Linked DNA regions of Homo sapiens: regions 2, 3 and 4 are each linked to region 1. Evidence: promoter capture Hi-C in human tissues and cell types (Jung and others, 2019). All regions are on one chromosome and are shown on one strand. The core of a region is centred on a gene start or on the middle of the fragment in contact, and the rest is flanking DNA. Distances in the headings are between cores, read along the strand shown.

Region 1 (2,891 bases), core at 30-2,529:
CCAAAGATTTCTTTTTCATAATATAATTCATTGTTGTCAAAAAATGCCAGGGAATGGATCACCTTACAACTGCTAGAATAGCTATCATCAAAAAGACGAAAGGTAACAAACGTTGGCAAGGATTTGAAGAGAACACTTATACACTACTGATGGTAATTTTAATTAGTATAGCCATTATAGAAAATGGTATGGAAGTTCCAAAGAAAAATTTAAAAATAAAACTACCAGGTGATCCAGGAATCCCACTTCTGGGTCTTTATCCAAAGGAATTGAAGTCAGCACGTCAGGCCGGGCATAGTGGCTCACGCCTGTAATTCTAGCACTTTGGGAGGCTGAGGCGGGCGGATCTCCCAAGGTCAGGAGTTCGAGACCATCCTGGCCAACATGGCGAAACCCGTCTCTACCAAAAATACAAAAATTAGCCGGGCGTGGTGGTGGATGTCTGTAGTCCCAGCTACTCGGGAGGCTGAGGCACGAGAATCACTTGAACCCGGGAGGCAGAGGTTGCAGTGAGCCGAGATTGCGGCATTGCCCTCCAGCCTAGGCAACAAGAGCGAGACGCTGTCTCAAAAACAAAAACCAAAACCAAAAAACCCCACAAAGTTATTGAAAGAAATAAATAAAAATAAATACGTAAATAAAAGAAGGAAATTCTGACACATACTAGAATATACATAAATGTATGTAAATGAATAAATGAATATATGAATGTGAGAATAAGAAGTGAGCGCGTCATTTTTTACCGTTCTCCCAGCTCAAAACGTTTTCGCCCCGTCCAGCTTTTCGGCCTCCTCCGGGCGCCCCCTGCCGGTGGGCCGCTTGCCCGTGCTCCAAGCCCAAAACAGACGCGTCCCCTCTAGTCGCTTTTAGCCTTCGGTCTCGGTCCTGATTGGCTCAGAGTCGCTCGTGATCCCTTTTGGGAAATGTAGTCCTTAAGGGTATCGCGCCTGCTTTTTCTATACGCTCTGACGCAGAGATAGCCACGGGAAGTACGTCACCAAATTTCGCCGGTTCCCACAAGCTAGGTCGTGTGACGCTGCATGACGGGAATTGTAGTCCTCAAATTGCTAGCTTCCGATGCCATGCGCTGCGACTGGAACGCCAATTCCCACCATGCCGCGCGCTCACAGCTCTCAGGGGCTGTCCTGTGGCCTTTGGGGAAGTGTAGTCTTGAGCCCCCAAGATTCCTTTTCTGTTCTATGGAGTGGGCCCGCGCAAAGGACTCCATTTCCCGGCGTGCTGCCATCCGTCGGGTCGCGGCAGCCATTTTGTTCCGCCCGAGGAGACCCTAAGATGGCGGCGAGGGGGACGGTGAAGGTTGCCTCCCGCCCGTCCGGGCTCTGATCCTCCGTCTCCCCGTCCCCCGGCGGCCGGCCCATGGCCTGGCGGAGGCCCGAACCATGGACCTCCGCACCGCCGTGTACAACGCCGCCCGTGATGGCAAGCTGCAGCTGCTCCAGAAGCTGCTCAGCGGCCGGAGCCGGGAGGAACTGGACGAGCTGACGGGCGAGGTGGCCGGCGGGGGAACGCCGCTACTCATCGCCGCCCGCTACGGCCACCTGGACGTGGTGGAGTACCTGGTGGACCGGTGCGGCGCGAGCGTGGAGGCCGGTGGCTCGGTGCACTTCGATGGCGAGACCATCGAGGGCGCGCCGCCGCTGTGGGCCGCCTCCGCAGCCGGCCACCTGGACGTGGTGCGGAGCCTGCTGCGCCGCGGGGCCTCGGTGAACCGCACCACGCGCACCAACTCCACGCCTCTCCGCGCCGCCTGCTTCGACGGCCACCTGGAGGTGGTGCGCTACCTGGTCGGCGAGCACCAGGCCGACCTGGAGGTGGCCAACCGGCACGGCCACACGTGCCTCATGATCTCGTGCTACAAGGGCCACCGTGAGATCGCCCGCTACCTGCTGGAGCAGGGCGCCCAGGTGAACCGGCGCAGCGCCAAGGGCAACACGGCCCTGCATGACTGCGCCGAGTCCGGCAGCCTGGAGATCCTGCAGCTGCTGCTGGGGTGCAAGGCCCGCATGGAACGTGACGGCTACGGCATGACCCCGCTGCTCGCGGCCAGCGTGACGGGCCACACCAACATCGTGGAGTACCTCATCCAGGAGCAGCCCGGCCAGGAGCAGGTCGCAGGGGGAGAGGCTCAGCCTGGGCTGCCCCAAGAAGACCCCTCCACCAGCCAGGGGTGTGCGCAGCCTCAGGGGGCTCCGTGCTGCAGCTCCTCCCCAGAGGAACCACTGAACGGGGAATCTTACGAAAGCTGCTGTCCCACCAGCCGGGAAGCTGCCGTGGAAGCCTTGGAATTGCTGGGAGCTACGTATGTGGATAAGAAACGAGATCTGCTTGGGGCCCTTAAACACTGGAGGCGGGCCATGGAGCTGCGTCACCAGGGGGGCGAGTACCTGCCCAAACCGGAGCCCCCACAGCTGGTCCTGGCCTATGACTATTCCAGGGAGGTCAACACCACCGAGGAGCTGGAGGCGCTGATCACCGACCCGGATGAGATGCGCATGCAGGCCCTGTTGATCCGGGAGCGCATCCTCGGTCCCTCGCACCCGGACACTTCCTATTACATCCGTTACAGGGGTGCCGTGTACGCCGACTCGGGCAATTTCGAGCGCTGCATCCGCTTGTGGAAGTACGCCCTGGACATGCAACAGAGCAACCTGGAGCCTCTGAGCCCCATGACCGCCAGCAGCTTCCTCTCCTTCGCGGAACTCTTCTCCTACGTGCTTCAGGACCGGGCCGCCAAAGGCAGCCTGGGCACCCAGATCGGCTTTGCAGACCTCATGGGGGTTCTCACCAAAGGGGTCCGGGAAGTGGAACGGGCCCTGCAGCTGCCCAGGGAGCCCGGAGACTCAGCCCAGTTCACCAAGGCGCTGGCCATC
Region 2 (2,700 bases), core at 58-2,557, 660 kb after region 1:
ATGGTAGAACATACTTCGATTTGTCCCATAAGAGGGACGAGGGAGTGGGGGCATTTATCTACCACCTCCCATCTGTCACTGGCTGAGGGCTGCTCTGAGAGGTATTAGGCCAACACAGAAAATCTAAAGACTAAGTAGTCAGCCTGGCAAAGTGAAGTTGAGGAGCAAGAATTCTGTTCCAGGCAGAGGGAACAGCATTTGCAAAATTCTAGAGGTGAACAAAGCAAGATGCCTCTGGGACATTGCAAATCATCCAGGCTTCAGAGATTGGCAGGCGCCCAACCACAGGGGTGCATGTAGGCCACAGAGAAGAGTGTGGGCTTTATCTGGAGGGCAATGGGGAGCCATGGGAGAGTTTAGAGCATGGGAAAGACTATGTTACAGGTCTGGAAGCTGAGGCCCAGAGAGGCTAAGGAATTTAGCTGATGTCATACAGCTTATGAATGGCAGAGACAGAAATCCGACTTGAGTGGGCTGCAGACAGATTGAGGGTGTGAAATTTGGGGGATGGGGACTGGGGAGGAGGTGAGGCTGATGCCCAGGGCTGAAGCTCAGGCAGGGGGCACAGTTGGAGACCCAGCTGGAGAGGCAATGCTATAGGGAGAGAGAATGAAGCTGGTGCAAGCCTGGAGGCCAACCTGGCGGTGCGGACTTGGGACCACTGACCCCCACCAGCCCCACCCTGACCCTGGCACTTGACTCTCCCTCCAAATCAAGTCCAGGAGGGCTCTGAGGATATATGGACTCAGACCTGAGTCCGGATAAAAGAGCCAGCTACGGAGAGAAAGGGCTTTCCAGGCAGGAGGCCCAGCCCATGCAAAGGCCCTGGGGCAGGATCCTGCCTGGTGTGTTGGAGGAACAGCAAGGAGATCTGTGTGGCTGGAGCAGAGTGAGGGATGGTGACAGGGGGTCAGGAATTTGGGTTTTAAGCACTGATCTCATTGTAGGGGGGCGTGGCTTGAACAAGTCTGGGTCACTCTTGGAGTCTCAGACAAGGGTAACATTGAACCTTCTACAGTGTGTTGCTAGGAACCTCCAGAAGCTGATGCTGGTAGCGTCTTCGCACAGTGAGGGCTGAATCTGCACTGCTGGGGGCCGGCAGCCCTTTTGAAGCATCCCTGGGCCTCCTTGGGTCCAAAGATACCCTGAGCCTTCAAGAAGTTATCTCAAAGCTTGCCCGGGTACCGGCAAATCACAGACCTAGGAATGATCCATTGGCCACAGGCCCAGGCAGCTGGCAGCTCCTGGGACAGAATGTAGCAGGGCGATGTCACAGAAGCTGGGGGCATCTAGAACCCTGGTGACTCCTGGTCTCCATGTCATCTGCCAGAAAGGCCACCTGCGCCAGCACCTCCTGAGACCGGCCTTCAAAGACACGACGCATGCCGCTCTGCCGTCCGGAGCACTTAATGCCTAGAGCCAGCAGGGTCCCAGTGGCCGCGTCACTGCCTCTGAGCCACGCGGTCATTCCAACTCAACTGCCCTCGCGTCCTGGCCACAGGCCCCCTGGGAGACCCCGGAGATGCCCAAAGGCCTCATGCCTGCCGCCTCCAGTGGGACCTAGCAGCACACAGACAGCGAAGCGGGTGACCATGGGGTGGCCACGGCCGGGCCGAGCCCTCGTGGCAGTCAAAGCCTTGCTGGTCTTGTCGCTGCTCCAGGTGCCCGCGCAGGCAGTGGTACGGGCCGTGCTGGAAGACAACTCGAGCTCGGTGGACTTTGCGGATCTGCCGGCGCTGTTCGGCGTCCCCCTGGCCCCCGAGGGCATACGGGGCTACCTGATGGAGGTCAAGCCAGCCAACGCGTGCCATCCCATCGAGGCCCCGCGACTGGGCAACCGCTCTCTGGGCGCCATCGTGCTGATCCGCCGCTACGACTGCACCTTCGACCTCAAGGTGCTGAACGCCCAGCGCGCCGGCTTCGAGGCGGCCATCGTGCACAACGTCCACTCCGACGACCTCGTGAGCATGACCCACGTCTACGAGGACTTGAGGGGCCAGATCGCCATCCCCTCAGTGTTCGTGAGCGAGGCCGCCTCGCAGGACCTGCGGGTCATCCTGGGCTGCAACAAGTCGGCCCACGCGCTGCTCCTGCCCGACGACCCACCGTGCCACGACCTGGGCTGTCACCCCGTGCTGACCGTGTCCTGGGTGCTGGGCTGTACCCTGGCCCTGGTCGTATCAGCCTTCTTTGTCCTGAACCACCTGTGGCTCTGGGCCCAGGCCTGCTGCAGCCACAGACGGCCGGTGAAGACGTCTACCTGCCAGAAGGCCCAGGTCCGCACCTTCACGTGGCACAACGACCTGTGTGCCATCTGCCTGGATGAGTATGAGGAGGGCGACCAACTCAAGATCCTGCCCTGCTCCCACACCTACCACTGCAAATGCATTGACCCCTGGTTCTCCCAAGCCCCCCGGCGCTCCTGCCCCGTGTGCAAACAGTCGGTGGCCGCCACAGAAGACAGCTTTGACTCCACCACCTACAGCTTCAGGGACGAGGACCCCTCCCTACCGGGCCACCGGCCCCCCATCTGGGCCATTCAAGTCCAGCTACGCTCCCGGAGGCTGGAGCTGCTGGGCCGCGCCAGTCCCCACTGCCACTGCAGCACCACGTCCCTGGAGGCAGAGTATACCACTGTCTCCTCAGCCCCTCCTGAGGCCCCTGGTCAGTAAAGATCTAGGGCAGGGAGGGGGGTGCAAT
Region 3 (2,700 bases), core at 167-2,666, 690 kb after region 1:
AGTCAGAAGGCGACATAAAAACAGTAAGAAAAATAGTTAAAAGCCCACCGCGTGTTCAGTCAGCGCTGGACTTTCTCCTATCTATGCCTGCTCCATGTGCCTGCACAACCCTACTGCTATTAGCCCCGGGTTTCCGATAAGAATGCTGAGCCCAGAGAGGGGAAGACGCTTCCCCAAGGTCACACAGCACAGTTGGGATTTGAATTCAGATCCTACATGACCTCCCCAGGGGTGCCTCGAAGAGCCTCTACTGAGGAGGGAGAGGAAAGGAAAAGCAACGGACACCAGAGGGATCAGCAGATGTAAGAGTTTCAAGCAGGCTTCATGCAATAGCTCCTGAAGCCCTCAGTTAAATCCTCTGTAGCCAGCAGCCCTCAGTTAAATCAAGATGTGACTGTGGCTTTCCCAACTGCCTGTATCATCCTTTCACATGCTAGTCCCCACAAACCCCTAAGCCAGGGACAACTGTGGCAACCACAGCAACTGGCTCAGAAGAAAAGAAATAAGAATAAAGTTTGGAAGCTGGCGACACCCAGATGTCCCCTCCTTTCTTACCCAGAGTAGGAAAAGAGGAGGCCTTCAGTAACAACGGTCTTAGACATGAGAGAGAACATCCACCACCATGGAGATTCAAATCCAAACTGCACCCCTCACCTCCTGGTACACTCAGCCCAACCATCTCAACTCTGGGAGCCTTGAGGGGTTGCAATGTAGATACCAGACATATAAAAGCTGCAGTGGGCCGTGCTTAAGTGGTCGAGAATGTCAAATGTGAGCCTAACAGCCCGGGGTTCGAATCCCAGCTCTGCTGCTTTCTCGCTGTGCAACCTTCAGCAAGTTGCTTGACCTCTCTGTGTCACTGTTTCCCTGTTGGTAAAAGGGACATAAAAATTCCTGCCTCCCAATTTTAAATATGTTGATGTTCCAAAAACACATGGGACGGAGCCTAGCCTACAACAGGTGCTTATACATGTGGGATATAATATTATTATTATTATTATTTTTGAGACAGTCTTGCTCTGTCACCCAGGCTGGAGGGCAGTGGCACAATCTCAACTTACTGCAACTTCTGCCTCCCAGGTTCAAGCGATTCTCCTGCCTCAGCCTCCCCAGTAGCTGGGATTACAGGCACCTGCCACCACGCCTGGCTAACATTTTGTATTTTTAGTAGAGACGTGGTTTCACCATGTTGCCCAAGCTGGTCTTGAACTCCTGGCCTCAAGTGATCCGCCTGCCTCGGCCTCCCAAAGTGCTGGGATTACAGGCGTGAGCCACCGTGCCCGGCCCACATGTGAGATATAATTAGATATGTGATTCCCAACCAGAGACAGGGAGAGCCGGGACGATGTCCTCCCTCCCCGCCCACCCAACCCAGGGAAGGGCAGCAGGGAGATGGCTCTGGTCCCAGAGCCCCAGCCACCGGCGGCTCCCTGGGCGAGGGATTGACTTTTCTAGAATGTTTTGCCCCTCCTCCCAGTTTCCATCAGGAGCCAGCGCGGCCGCATAAATCCCGCTTTACGGCTGTTATTGACGGGGGAGCAGAGAGAGCAGCCCCAGGAAGGCCCAATTAATTTTCCCACCTGGCATCTGTGCGCCAGACGAATTTCTGAACTGCTGCAGGGAGGGGCAGAGCGAGCTGGGGAAAGGCCAGGCTGAGGACAAGGTCGTGGGCAGGCCGGGATATCCTAGGCTCTTAGCTTCAGAGCACTGTTGAGGGAGTCCCAGGCTCTCTTGTCTGAAGGGTAGAAGTGGAGGGGGCTGTCAATTCTGAGTAGGGCTTGAAGCTTTCAGTTAGGATGCAGATGAGGGTTTCACTGAGGAGACACTGAAGCAAAGACACAAAGGAGGCTAGGGAGGCTGCCACATGGCTTTTGGAAGGAACAGCTTGCCAGCAGAGGGCACAGCCTGTGCAAAGGCCCTGAGGCAGGACCTCACCTGGGGTGTTGGAGGAACAACGAGGAGGCCCATGTGGCTGGAGCAGAGTGAGTGAGGGGGAGACAAGGAGGAGGAGAGGGCAGGGAGGGGCTGGGGCAGGTCGTGCAGGGCCTGGTAGGCCTCGGGGAGGACTTGGGCTTTGACCCTGAGGGAGGTGGGAGCCATTGAGGGCTGTGGGCAGAGGAGAGACGAGATCTGACTTAGGTGCTCACGGGCGCCCTCTGGCTGCTGTTCAGAGAACAGTTGTGGGATTCACAGGGAAAACAAAACCCAGTTACTAAATTCTCCCAGGTCCAGGTATTGGCTGGGATCTGTAAACCAGAGACCCCCTGGCACTTTAAAAGGAAAATCAAGGCTGGGCGCAGAGGTTCACGCCCATAATCCCAGCACTTTGGGAGGCCGAGGCGGGTAGATCACCTGAGGTCAAGAGTTCGAGACCAGCCTGGCCAACATGGAGAAACTCCATCACTATTTCCAAAACTTTCTCATCTTCCCAAATTGAAACTCCATCTCCATGAAACACTCACTCCCCACCCCCCTCCCCAGCCCCTGGCACTCCCCATCCTACGTTCTGTCTCTGTGAATCTGATGACTCTAGGGATCTCCTAGGAGTGGAGTCACACAAGATTTGTTCTTTTGTGTCTGGCTTCTCTCACTGAGTGTGATGTCCTCAAGGTTCATCAATGTCATCGCCTGTATCAGAATTTCCTTCCTTTTTAAGGCTGAGTAATATTCCATTTTATGCATAGATCACATTTTGCTCAT
Region 4 (2,700 bases), core at 52-2,551, 550 kb after region 1:
AGTTCCCCAATTTGGGAAGGGGGGGAATTGGTGGGAAATGTCCAGGATTTGTAGGGGGAGGTCCGAAGGGGAGGATCTTAATTTTAGGAGAGATTCCCATAAAGAGAGGTGAACTTGGCCGCAACCTGGCCGAACCCTCGCACCCACGGCGCGGGCACTCTAACCTGGGGGGCTCCCCTCAGGGCACGCCCCGCGCCCCCTTTAACCCAGTGCCGACGGCCCCGCCCCCGGTATGACGTCACCTCCCCTCCCCCCGCAGCCCCCGGGGGCTCCCGGGGCGTGCGGAACCCGCGGGGCTGGCGGTTCCAGGGGCGGCTTCCCCACTCTCGGGATCCCCACGGGGCCCCCAGCGCGGAGGGGAGACTGGGGTGCTGGGCGTGCGCGTCTGCCTGCCAGAGCCCCTGGGGCTGGGGGCTGAGGCTCGCCCCTGGGTGGGGAGGCTGGAAGGGGGCGCCGAGGCCGCAGAAGGGTGGGGCAATGCCCGAGTGCCGGAGGGGCGACCTCCCATAAGGCAACGACAGGGCCCGGAGTGTTCCAGGGGAGACGGCGTAGACTAGGGGGTCTCCAGGGGAGGGAGACCCGGAGAGGGAAGGCGGCGGGCGCAGCAGCCCTGGAGCCACCCCGCCTGGAGCCACCCGTCCCGGCTCCTCTCCGCTCCGGGGCGCCCGCATGCCCCCCATCCCCCGGCACAGCGCCCCCTGCCTCCAGGACCCGCCCGGGGACCCGGGCCGGGCGCCGCCGGGGCCGGCACCGGCTCCGCACACACGCGCGCCCCCCTCCGCGCCTCTGCCCCGCCCGCAGCCCGGGGTGGTGCAGCCGGCGGCGCTGGGCAGCTTCCAATGCCGCGCTCTGGGCGCTTCCAGCCCAGCCCCCTCCCACGCCGCGGACGAAGCCCCCCCAGCACCCCCTGCCGAGCGCCCCCAGCGCGGCCCCGGCCCTGTCCCTCGGGGCATTGTCCGGGCGCAGCTACCGGGGCGCAGCGGCTGGGCGTGCAACTGGCTGCAGCCGAGCATCCTCCGAGCACAATGGCCGTGCAGGCTTCCCCGGCACAAAGCCGGCGCGCTGCCCACTCGGCTGCCTCCGAGACCCCCCTTGGAGCGCCTGCATTTTTTTTTCCTCTAATCCATGATTTTATTTTTTTTTTTGGCTTTACCTGGAGGCTGGCTGGGCTGGGCTCCCCCGGCTCTGCCCCGCTTCACATCGTGGCTGTTGCATGGGATCCGAGCGGAGCCCGAGCGCCAGCGGCTCGCGGCGTGCGCGCGCCGGCCGGGCTGCCGGGCGGGCGGCGCGAGGACACTCACTGCGGCTCGCGCTCCCCTAGCTCCCGCTCGCGCGCCCCCCCAGCCGGTGACGTCATCCCTTCCGCCAGCGCCGCCGCCGCCGCCGCCGGGTCGGGGGCAGGGCCGGCCCGTGCGCGTCACTGCGCAGCCGCGCGGCCGCCACGCCCCCCGGCCAATGGGACGGCGCAGCGCGGTCACGTGGCTCCGGGGTGTTTAAAGGGCCGCGGGAGCACGTGGGGCGCGGGGCTTCGCGGGACACGTGGGCGGCTGGGGTGGTGGTGGTGGTGGCGGCTGCGGCGGCGGCGGGAAGGGCCCCTGGGGCTACTGTCCGTGCGGGAGCCCCAGCGTCCTGGGTGCAAAGGGCATGGCACTTTCTGTGCGCTGCCCTAAACTGTGCCACGGCTCCCCAGTACCCTTGGAATAAAATCCCGCCTCCTCTCTGCAGCTCGCCGTTTCACATTAGCGCCCACTACCCTGTCCCCTCCCCCCCACCATGTCAATGATCCAGAAAAACCAGCTGCTCCTTCTTTGCTTTTTCAGAGATGGGGTCTGCCACCTGGGCCTCAGTACAGTGGTATGATCATAGCTCACTGCAGCTTCAAACTCCTGGGCTCAGGTGATCCTCCCGCCTCAGCCTCCTGAGTAGTTGGGCTCGGGTGATCCTCCCGCCTCAGCCAGCTTCTTACAGTTCCTCTAACTTGAGCATCCAAGAACTTCCCCTTCTCATCTTTCCAATTTCTGCTCAAATAAGCAGCGCCTGGGAGAAGCCCTCCCTGACAACAGCTACCAGCCACGCCCCACTCCACTCTATCCCATTATCCCGGTTTGTTGTTGTTGTTGTTGTTTGTTTGGTTTTGAGTCGGAGTCTCACTCTGTCGCCCAGGCTGGAATGCAGTGGCGTGATCGCGGCTCACTGTAACCTCCGCCTCCTGGATTCAAGCTATTCTCCTGTCTCAGCCTCCGGAGTAGCTGGAATTACAGGCGTGCTGTCACCACGCCTGGCTAATTTTTGTATTTTTGTTAGAGACAGTGTTTCACCATGTTGGCCAGGCTGGTCTTGAACTCCTGACCTCAGTGATCCGTCCACCTCGGCCTCCCAAAGTGCTGGGATTACAGGCGTGAGCCACCGCGCCTGGTCCCATTATCCCGTTTTTATTCTAGTTACACTACAGTGTGGCTCCAGAGATCCCTATTGTAGGTTGAACACATGAATGAATGGATGATGGAGCACTTCTTATAGAGTAAGCACTTTACACAGGTCTCACCTAATTACCATCCCCTGCTTCCCTGGAGTCAGGACGAGCCACAGTTGGAACCCAGCTAAAACACTGATTTGCTGTGTGAGGCCCGGAGCCTCACTTTCCCCATCTGTAGAATGGATTTGCCTCTGGATCTCAGCTCTCATCTGTAAAATGGGGCA

Evidence for each region. Contacts are between HindIII fragments. The study calls those that stand out against the background at their distance.
Region 2: a contact is called between the fragment with the promoter of ZNRF4 here and the fragment with the promoter of FEM1A in region 1, in 1 of the 25 tissues and cell types used here (lymphoblastoid cells).
Region 3: a contact is called between a fragment that was not itself captured here and the fragment with the promoter of FEM1A in region 1, in 1 of the 25 tissues and cell types used here (lymphoblastoid cells).
Region 4: a contact is called between the fragment with the promoter of PTPRS here and the fragment with the promoter of FEM1A in region 1, in 2 of the 25 tissues and cell types used here (dorsolateral prefrontal cortex and lymphoblastoid cells).

What each region holds. Positions count from the first base shown.
Region 1 is chr19:4,790,455-4,793,345 of GRCh38, forward strand. FEM1A (fem-1 homolog A) reads left to right here and starts at 1,280. Exons shown (of 1, transcript NM_018708.3): 1 at 1,280-2,891. The coding sequence starts at 1,401. It overlaps LOC124904620 (a long non-coding RNA gene), which reads right to left and starts at 838. Exons shown (of 2, transcript XR_007067103.1): 1 at 744-838. RefSeq lists enhancers at 933-1,590, 1,101-1,370, 1,591-2,247, 1,901-1,960, 2,248-2,891. The HindIII fragment of the contact is 32,697 bases long and covers 1-2,891 here.
Region 2 is chr19:5,454,110-5,456,809 of GRCh38, forward strand. ZNRF4 (zinc and ring finger 4) reads left to right here and starts at 1,308. Exons shown (of 1, transcript NM_181710.4): 1 at 1,308-2,700. The coding sequence starts at 1,383. The coding sequence ends at 2,672. The HindIII fragment of the contact is 14,927 bases long and covers 54-2,700 here.
Region 3 is chr19:5,478,577-5,481,276 of GRCh38, forward strand. No RefSeq gene overlaps it. Among named protein-coding and RNA genes, the nearest start is that of ZNRF4, 25 kb to the left of the region's middle. The HindIII fragment of the contact is 4,537 bases long and covers 1-2,700 here.
Region 4 is chr19:5,339,511-5,342,210 of GRCh38, forward strand. PTPRS (protein tyrosine phosphatase receptor type S) reads right to left here and starts at 1,302. Exons shown (of 38, transcript NM_002850.4): 1 at 1,154-1,302. RefSeq lists a silencer at 1,230-1,509. The HindIII fragment of the contact is 6,208 bases long and covers 1-2,700 here.